3 separate regions of the Homo sapiens genome follow, and all the other regions are linked to region 3. Evidence: promoter capture Hi-C in 16 types of primary human blood cells and fetal thymus (Javierre and others, 2016). All regions are on one chromosome and are shown on one strand. The core of a region is centred on a gene start or on the middle of the fragment in contact, and the rest is flanking DNA. Distances in the headings are between cores, read along the strand shown. Region 1 overlaps DNAJC3 (DnaJ heat shock protein family (Hsp40) member C3). Region 2 has its middle 6.8 kb from the start of CLDN10-AS1. Region 3 holds the start of DZIP1 (DAZ interacting zinc finger protein 1).

The links. The method cuts DNA at HindIII sites, captures the fragments that hold promoters and counts their contacts. A CHiCAGO score of 5 or more calls a contact.
Region 1: a contact is called between a fragment that was not itself captured here and the fragment with the promoter of DZIP1 in region 3, in 1 of 17 cell types (neutrophils). The highest score is 6.7, in neutrophils.
Region 2: a fragment that was not itself captured here is called in contact with the fragment with the promoter of DZIP1 in region 3 in 3 of 17 cell types (monocytes, M0 macrophages and M1 macrophages); the score reaches 6.3 in monocytes.

What each region holds. Positions count from the first base shown.
Region 1 is chr13:95,743,302-95,746,371 of GRCh38, forward strand. The region is part of intron 4 of DNAJC3 (DnaJ heat shock protein family (Hsp40) member C3); the gene reads left to right. Among named protein-coding and RNA genes, the nearest start is that of DNAJC3, 68 kb to the left of the region's middle. The HindIII fragment of the contact is 1,147 bases long and covers 1,210-2,356 here.
Region 2 is chr13:95,539,286-95,542,165 of GRCh38, forward strand. It overlaps a transcript of CLDN10 not described here. Among named protein-coding and RNA genes, the nearest start is that of CLDN10-AS1, 6.8 kb to the left of the region's middle. The HindIII fragment of the contact is 430 bases long and covers 1,222-1,651 here.
Region 3 is chr13:95,643,456-95,646,309 of GRCh38, forward strand. It overlaps DZIP1 (DAZ interacting zinc finger protein 1), which reads right to left and starts at 1,251. Exons shown (of 23, transcript NM_198968.4): 1 at 922-1,251; 2 at 146-243. RefSeq lists silencers at 864-973, 1,034-1,123, 1,214-1,323 and an enhancer at 1,414-1,463. The HindIII fragment of the contact is 11,159 bases long and covers 1-2,854 here.

The DNA of each region.
Region 1 (3,070 bases), core at 533-3,032, 100 kb after region 3:
ATGTGGGCAGTGAGTACTTATAGACAGAAAATGTGAGGTACAGAAATCGTTTGACTGGTTACAGCTAGGCCTTTGCCTTATTTGGATATGGTCTGGTCAGTTACCTGCCTGTGATTAGTGGCGGTTTGGCTGCTTATGATTGGCCGAGACACCACTGTTATTACCTTCTTAAGTTAGGTTTTCAGTTTAAGTTAGGTTGTAGTTCATTAAGTGGGAACTGAAAGTATGGAGACAGCCTCAGGCCACTGGCCTCCTGCTTATTGATTGATTGATTGAGACAGAGTCTTGCCCTCTCACCTAGGCTGGAGTGTAGTGGCATGATCTCGGCCCACTGCAACCTCTGCCTCCTGGGTTCAAGCAATTCTCCTGTCTCAGTCTCCCTAGTGGCTGGGATCATAGGTGCCCGCTACCACACCCAGCTAATTTTTTGTGTTTTGAGTGGAAATAGGATTTTGTCATGTTGGCCAGGCTAGTGTTGAACTCCTGACCTCAAATGATCCACCCACCTTGGCCTCCCAAAGTGCTGGGATTATGGGCCTGAACCACCACGCCCGGCTGCCTCCTGCTTATTTAATAGTAGTTATCCTTAATATTGGGTAAAGTGATTCTTCTTTTGTTCTTTGTCAAAATTGTTTTAGATATTTTAAGGTTGGTGTCTTTCCATATACATTTTAGAATAAACTTGTCTGTGTTTATAAAAAGTCTTGAGATATTTGGTTAGGAGTCGTAATAAACTTACAGATTAATTTGGGGAGAATTGACACCTTTATTATGTTGAGTCCAGTGCATGAACATAGTAGGGATGTCTCCATTTGTTGAGGTCTCCTTCAGTATTTTTCATCAGCAATTTTTAATTTAATATACAGATACTGTATGTGTTTTTTACATTTTTTTAAAAAGTGTATACCTAAGTATTTTATATTTTTACTGTGATTGTAAATGGTATGTTTTAAATTCCAACTTTTGCATGGGATAATATTTTTGTGATTATTTCATAGGAAAGTACTCACCTTGTACTTAATTCTATGAGAGAAATCTTAGTGGGCATTCAGATGGGAGACCAAGTTAAATTTCAAAACTACAAGTCATTTTTAAAAGTTATATTAAAACAATTTTGTATGCATGTAAGAATAATTATAATTAGATTGGATTTGGTTTAGAGAAAAATACAAGCACAGGATTCATATATTTCAGAATCATTTTATGTTAAGCTTTGTTTGAAGTAAATTTAGGGTACCTGGAATAGTTTGTCCAAACTCATTGTAGGACTTAAAATTCAGATTAACAATTGGCAAATTCATATGTATGTACTTTGATCAATATGTATAGTCCTGCTCAAGGACGGTAGAGAGGGAGACACAGGGTCATGGAATTGGAATGCTGAGAAAAATTTATTTAACATATTAAAAAATTGATTAAATTTTAAGCATTCGGAACCTTGATTCCACAGGACAGAAGATAAAAGAATATTATCAGGCAGGTAACACAAGAAATACAAATTCAAAATCAGTGCATACAGTGCGCAGTCTTCCAAATGAAGAGATGAATGTTAAAACTATTCAGAGACCACTGGTCATTAAGTTGAGCAAAAATCAAGACGTATTTTACAGCGTAATATTGATAGGTCTTAAAGGAAATGTTTTCAGTCATATAATATGTTGACACTGCAAACATAAGCAGAGCTTTTGCGGTACAGTCTGGCATTAAGTATTACGAGAGAAAAACATTTTGCCCAGAGACACTTACTGGGGCTCTATTTGCTCTGGAAACTATTAGAGAATGTTGTATCTATATAATAGAATAATATTCATTAATAAGAATTATTTAAGGTTTGGTTTATAAACTTGGGCATACATAATAATGTCAATTAAATGGCAATATAAAAATTGTAAATGTTGATAACTACATAAAATTTTTATGTCTGTTAAATTAATATGATATGAATGACAATTATTTGAAGTTTCTAGCTCTTTTCCCTTGTGAGAGTTGTCAGAATCAAAATGAAGTCACTTGTATTAAATTCTAACAAAAAATAAATAAAGCCAGGAGGTTAAGAAGGGAGCTCTCACACACGTCTATCGTAAGAACTGCTACAAAGCATCTCTGAAGGGCTCTTCTGCACATATGCCTGTAATAAGAACTTTTGCCAGCAGTCCCTGCATCTCTACATCCATGGAGCCCCATTGACATTCCCCACCTGCAGCGGCCACTGCAGCTCAAACTGCAGCTTGCTACGTGAGTCACAAGGATAGCTAGCTGGATGCATAAGAACATTTGACTGACACAGTCTCCCCTGTATCCAATGTTCTCTTTGTTTTCAAACAAATTCCTTATGCTTTTCCCTTTTGCCTTTAAAAGCTTCTCCTGGCTTCAACCTGTTTGGATATGCCTGTGGTCCCTATAGCCCTCATATGCTGGATTTGCAAATCCCCTGCACACTCCAGAATAAACTCAGTTCAATAAACTCTTTGAAGAATGCTTGTTATTTAGGTTGACACTCTTTTGTAAAGTTGTATTCAATACACTTTGAAGAAAAAAGAAAAGCTTTGGAACAAGAGGTAGGAACCTTGAGTTTTAGATTTGACTTTGTACTTCAGCCATGGTTTGTGCAGCACTCACCATGTACTGGGTGTGTTGCTGAGTGGTTTGCATGGATTATTCCACCTCTAGGGGCAGAGGACTGCTATATTCGTAGTCTCAGTTTACAGCAGAGGAAATTGAGGCTTAGAGCAGTTTAGTAACTTGCTCAAGATTACACCAGTAGTTGGCAAGTAGGTTTTAGATTCCAGGGCCTGCACTCTGAAGCACTGCGCTGTTCTGCCCTCTGTTATAATTAGTAATTGTCCATATGCATCCTTTGAAGATGACTTCTGTAGAATATGGGCACAGGTCTCAACTGTATGGACAGTTTTACAAAGTGCAGAATAGGATAGTTGCTACTATCTGCATAAATGTAAGAACATACATATTTGCTTGAATGTGGATAAAATACCCCTGGAAAGATATGCAAGAAACTGATAACACTGATTACCTTCTGGAGGAAGATTACACCATGTGACCTTATTACCTT
Region 2 (2,880 bases), core at 187-2,686, 100 kb before region 3:
CACTGGACTCTTAAAACAACACAGAAGAAAAAGTGAGGATGCTGGCATTACAATTGGATTGTGAATCTGTTTTCACCTTCAGTATTTATATTGAGACATGTGGGAATACAGTATTGTTTCAATATGCCTTCTCTCAAATGATCATTTTTTAGTTGGTACATGACTAAGAGGTTTGCTATATTCATTGGAGTAACATTCACGTTCTGAATTAATTTGCTTAGAAGATGAATCTGACTTTATAATAAAAATTTTAAAGGAGTCAATTAGAAAAGAGCAGCTGGAAGAAAGTTGTTGCATTATTTAAGGGCTTGAATAATATACAAAGGTAAGTTAGTAATAAAAAGTTAATTACAAGATGGCTTTATTTCTTATTGAAACTGTATTTTCTACCTTTCCAGAATATTGTCCTGAGAACACTTACATATTCCTTTTTTTTAGAAAAACTGTGGAATGAAGAAGGCACTCATTATTTTCAGCTCCCATAGTTATAATTCTGTTTCTATAGAAATTTGCAACATCCCATAGAGTACAGTATTTTATTCAGCTTTCAAAAGATAATCTTGACCCTTTAACACATGTTTACTTTTGGCTGGGCAAGGTGGCTCACGCCTGTAATATCAGCACTTTGGGAGGTCGAGGTGGGCAGATCACCTAAAGTCAGGAGTTCAAGACCAGCCTGGGCAACATGGTGAAGCCCCTTCTCTGCCAAAAATATAAAAATTAGCCTGACGTGGCCAGGCGCGGTGGCTCACGCCTGTAATTCCAGCACTTTGGGAGGCCGAGGTGGGTGGATCACCTGAGGTCAGGAGTTCAAGACCAGCCTGGCCAATATGATGAAATCCCGTCTCTACTAAAAATACAAAAATTAGCCGGGCATGGTGGTGCATGCCTGTAGTCCCAGCTACTTGGGAGGCTGAGGCAGAAGAATCGCTTGGACCCGGGAGATGGAGGTTACAGTGAGCTAAGATCACGCCACTGCACTCCAGCCTGGGCAACAGAGGGAGACTCTGTCTCAAAAATAAATAAATAAATAAATAAATAAATAAATAAATAAATATTAGCCTGGCATGGTGGCATGCGCCTGTAATCTCAGCTGCTTGGTGGGGGCTGAGGCAAGAGAATCGCTTGAGCCTGGGAGGTGGAGGTTGCAGTGAGCCAAGATAGCACCACTGCACACCAGCCTGGGCAGCAGAGCAGAGACAGACTCTGTCTCAAAAAAAAAGCTTACTTTTAAGAACTGCTTACATTAATTACAAAAGACCACTTTTTAGTTGTTAATATGCATTAGGTAACAAATACTTGGCATATATGCATTCTTTGAAAATATCAGACAAATAACTAAACAAAATTGCATGCTAGTTAGTGGCTCGGACTGGGAAATGAGAAGTGATGTTAATTCTTAACGTTGGCTACTTTTGTCACCTGTAAAATATGATCAAGCCTGTTAGTCTAACTTAATAGCTTGAGTAATTGATATAGGGAGTGAAGTTTTTTTGGGGGTTGGGGAGAGACATTGCTTTTTTCCACTGACACTGACGATACCAGTTTACTACTATGTGACACTTTTTGCTTGAACTAGAAGAGATAAGTAGTATTTTTCAAGTTTTGAGGTTTGGGTGTTCTGCTCTTGTGGACGTGTCATGTTTAATAAAGCTTGTTCACAACTACTGGCTTAGGAAGTGGCTTGCAGTTGACAAGTATGTGACTTGGAACACTGGGTGGAATGGCCACGTGGCCCAGTGGCCCAGGGCCCACACTGAGAATGCAGCAGCTGTGCATGCTAAATCTGGCTCTGTCATTAACCTGCCGAGGGACCTTCTACAAATGCTTAATTCCAACCATGAAAGCAAACATAGGCACCGATGCTTGAGAATAGTTGTAAAGGAAATCAGGCCTTGTGCAGAAAATAAACGGAACTCGTCTGCCTTTCCTTTCTAACACTTGTTGGAGGCAGGGAGGAATTCAGAATGACCAGGCTGCAAGTTACTGTTCTTTGCTTCTAATTAAGAGGCAACTATACGCAAGTGAGCATAATTAGGAGAAACTGGGGCAGCTGGGGCAAGTATGGGCAAAACTTAAGCCAACTTTGAAAACTAAAGGGCAAATCTCTGGAGTAGTGAGAAAGAGATTTCTCCCTGGTTCCCTCTCTTGCTAGCTGCATATGTGTACAATGACCCCATCACACTCTGCGTCTGAGCCTCCCTCTCTTTCTAGTTTTTTTCTGTTTCCCCTGTTCCTTCTTGTTTTTCCTTTGTTTGCACTGTCTGAAGGGGAGGAGGAGACAATATTCTCCCATTGCATTTTTTATTACTTCCTCTATCACTAGATCTAGGCAGAGCTTTTGAGACTTGTTTTGACACACTCACTTTTTTTCCACACTCACTTTTTAGACGGGAAAAATGGGCCCAATCAAATGTAAATGAACAGCAAGGTAGTGACAGCTAGAATAGATGGCAGGTCATTTAAATGCCAGTCCAGTGCTATTTCCATACATTGCACCCAAGTTTAATGATTAAGAACAAACAATAACACTCCCAAGGCTGAACTGACCTTATATTTTTCATATGTAAAAATGTATTCTATGTTTGTTACCTCACAACTATGTTAGTCCATTCTCACATAGCTATAAATATCTGAGACTGGGTAATTTATAAAGAGAAAAGGTTTAATTGCTAGGTTTTGCAGGCTGTACAGGAACATGATGCTGGCATCTACTTGGCTTCTGGGGAGGCCTCAGGAAACTCACAATCATTGCGGAAGATGAAGTGGAAGCTTGCATGTCACATGGTCACATGGCCAGAGCAAGAGCAAGAGAGCGAGGTGGGAAGTGCTACACATTTTTAAATGACCAGATCTCACGAGAACTCATTCACTATCACG
Region 3 (2,854 bases), core at 1-2,500:
TCCCTGCAACCAGGCATAAAAAGTGCTAAAGACATAAATAGTTTCAAAGTTTGATTCTGTCACTTACTTGCTCCCTGATCTAGAACAAATTGTCAGCTCTAAGACTTAGCTTCCTCCATCTGTTTAAGAGCATCAAGACACCGACCTGGCAGGTCTGTAGATTCTGGACTCCATCCACTGGGCTGCAGGATCAGCGGGAACAAGAGCTGTGGTCTCTCTTGCTCAAGTATACGTCCCTAGAACCTAGCAGAGGACAGGCACGGAGAAGGCGTTCAGAATTTGCTGAATGGACACGTGAATGAAGAACGATCGAATGACTTAGGCGCTTAGTTAAGGAAACATCAGCTCCTGGCCCTTTATCCCTCCTATTTTTGCTGCCTCTGGCCTGTTAGAACGATTAACCCATGATCTGGGCCAAGGGCTTCAGAGCTGAACGTGGGGGTGGCCCGCGCGCCCCCGCTGAGATCTGGGCGCAGAGGCCTGCGGGCCCGAGGTACCCATCTCCGTTGGCCGCCACACTCCATCGTGGGGCGTCGTGCCGCTGACCACCCCTTTCCCCTTGCGTGGATCTCGGTCACAAGATGGCCGGAACAGGAAAGAAGGGGGCATGCTTTCCCGTTCCCTCCCTCCCCCATCCCGGGCAGGGCCCCCAGCCTTGCGCGGCGCCTCAAGTCCCAGGCGCATGGCACCGCCGGGCAGCCGAACCAGCAGACAAAAGCCGAGAGACGCGGGTTCCAGGGGAACCTCGGCGCCCTTCCTTGGAAGGCAAACAGGCAGTGGGGGCAGCGGCGGCTACTCCAGCTGGATCTGCAGAGGCTCGGCTCGCAGCCTGGAGAGGCAGGAGGGCCGGCTTCGCGGGTATCGGGATGCCCCGTCAGCCACCTCCTGTGGGCGCCTGGCGCATCCCCGGTCTCGGCTCACCCCAGCTGCGCGCTCCTGGGCGGGTGCCGGGCGCTGCAGGCGGGCGGGGGCGACACAGGGGACCCAGACCCCAGGGTCGCTGCTGACGCGGGCCGGGCCCGCGGAGGCCGAGGAGCAGCAAAGCGGAGAGAGGCAGGCCGGCTCCTTCTTGCAGGGCGCAGGATGAAACGTGTCTGGTCTGGGCAAGTTGTGGCGAGGCGGGTCGACTGGCGCCGCTCTAGGGCCTTCCAGACTCCGGACCACGGACGACTCAGGATACCCCACCCCCCTCCCGCCCCCTCCCCTCCGCGATCTCCCTCCGGCCTCTTCCCTCGGTGTCCCGGCTCCTCTGGCAACTGGGCGGGACCGCGAGCGTCTAGACCGCAGCGCTAAAATGCGCTCAGCCAATCCGGCAGCTGGCGCAGACACGTGGTTCGGGGGCGCGCTCCGTTGCTGGCCCTGGATGCTAACCCTAGGAAGGCTTTTCAAAGAGAAACCAGATTCGCTCCTACCCGGTTGTTGGTCTGGCCCTCAGCAAGCTAATTTCCCAGAGGAGCTTCAGGTGAATTATCTTCCAAAAAGAGATGCGTTTTAATCGCAGAAGTCTGCAGATGCGAAGGACCTTGAAAAGGCTATCTAATGTGGCCCTGCATTTGAGTGACGTGGAAAACCGAGATTAGGGACTTTTCACCAAAGCCCTCTAGGATTTAAACCCACGTAGGTTTCTGCGTCTCTTTCCGTTATGCCCACTTCAGGATGAAAGGCACGGATCTTTGTTGGTAGAAAGTTAGGCACTGAATTACAGGAGATGTGGGTCCGGAGTAGTGTGCTCATTTATGTAACCTAAAATTGGAACACGTGGGACAAAAGTCAGTATTTTTAAGTAACAAGTAATCCAGAACGTATGTATATACCATCATGAGAAATGAAGGCATCTTTTGCAAAACCTAAGTGTCTAATGCAGCTATATATATATATATATATAATATATATATATATGTTTTTAAATTAGAGAGGAGTAGCTGCAGAACTTTTACTGGACCAACATGCCGTTGTAAAAGTGCCTTTCCTTGTGCTTCTCCCTGACAGAATCAACTTTGTACCATACTTTAGCACAAGGCTTCAAACATAGCAACAGCTAAATATGTATTTATGTTGAATTCCTTGCTTTAGTTTTATTTGAAGCCATAAGGCCAAGATGACCATGATGGGATTTTAAATTGGTCTAATTTTAAAATTATTTTGAAAGAAAATTCAAGATCTCTATAAAAATCCTCTAAGTACTATGGGGAAAGATTTCTAGATAGAAATTTCAGACAATAGGCCGAGCGCAGTGGCTGACGCCTGTAATCCCAGCACTTTGGGAGTCCGAGGCGGGTGTATCACGAGGTCAGGAAATCGAGACCATCATGGCTAACACGGTGAAACGCCGTCTCTATTAAAAATACAAAAAATTAGCCGGGCATGGTGGTGGGCACCTGTAGTCCCAGCTACTCGGGAGGCTGAGGCAGGAGAATGGCGTGAACCTGGGAGGCGGAGCTTGCAGTGAGCCGAGATCGCGCCACTGCACTCCAGCCTGGGCGAGAGAGCGAGGCTCCGTTTCAAAAAAAAAAAAAAGAAAAAAGAAAAGAAAAGAAAAAGAAAGAAAGAAAAAAAAAGAAAGGAATTTCAGACAATATGAGATAGATAGGACCATTGCTCTGCAAAATCCGGTTTTTGCAAACTCGGTAGCTGTCTGTGTGTGTGTGTGAGAGAGAGAGAGAGATGATTGCTTAATTAATATTATTTGTTGACATACCATTTGAGTTACATGTATTTCCCATCCCCACTGTCAGTATATTACCCTACAGGTGTAGAATTGGAATAAGAAGAATCAATTGACTTTGGCATGACTTAGCAGCCATGATGCATTCTTGATCTATGCACAAACCACTTTTACCAATTGTATAATGGT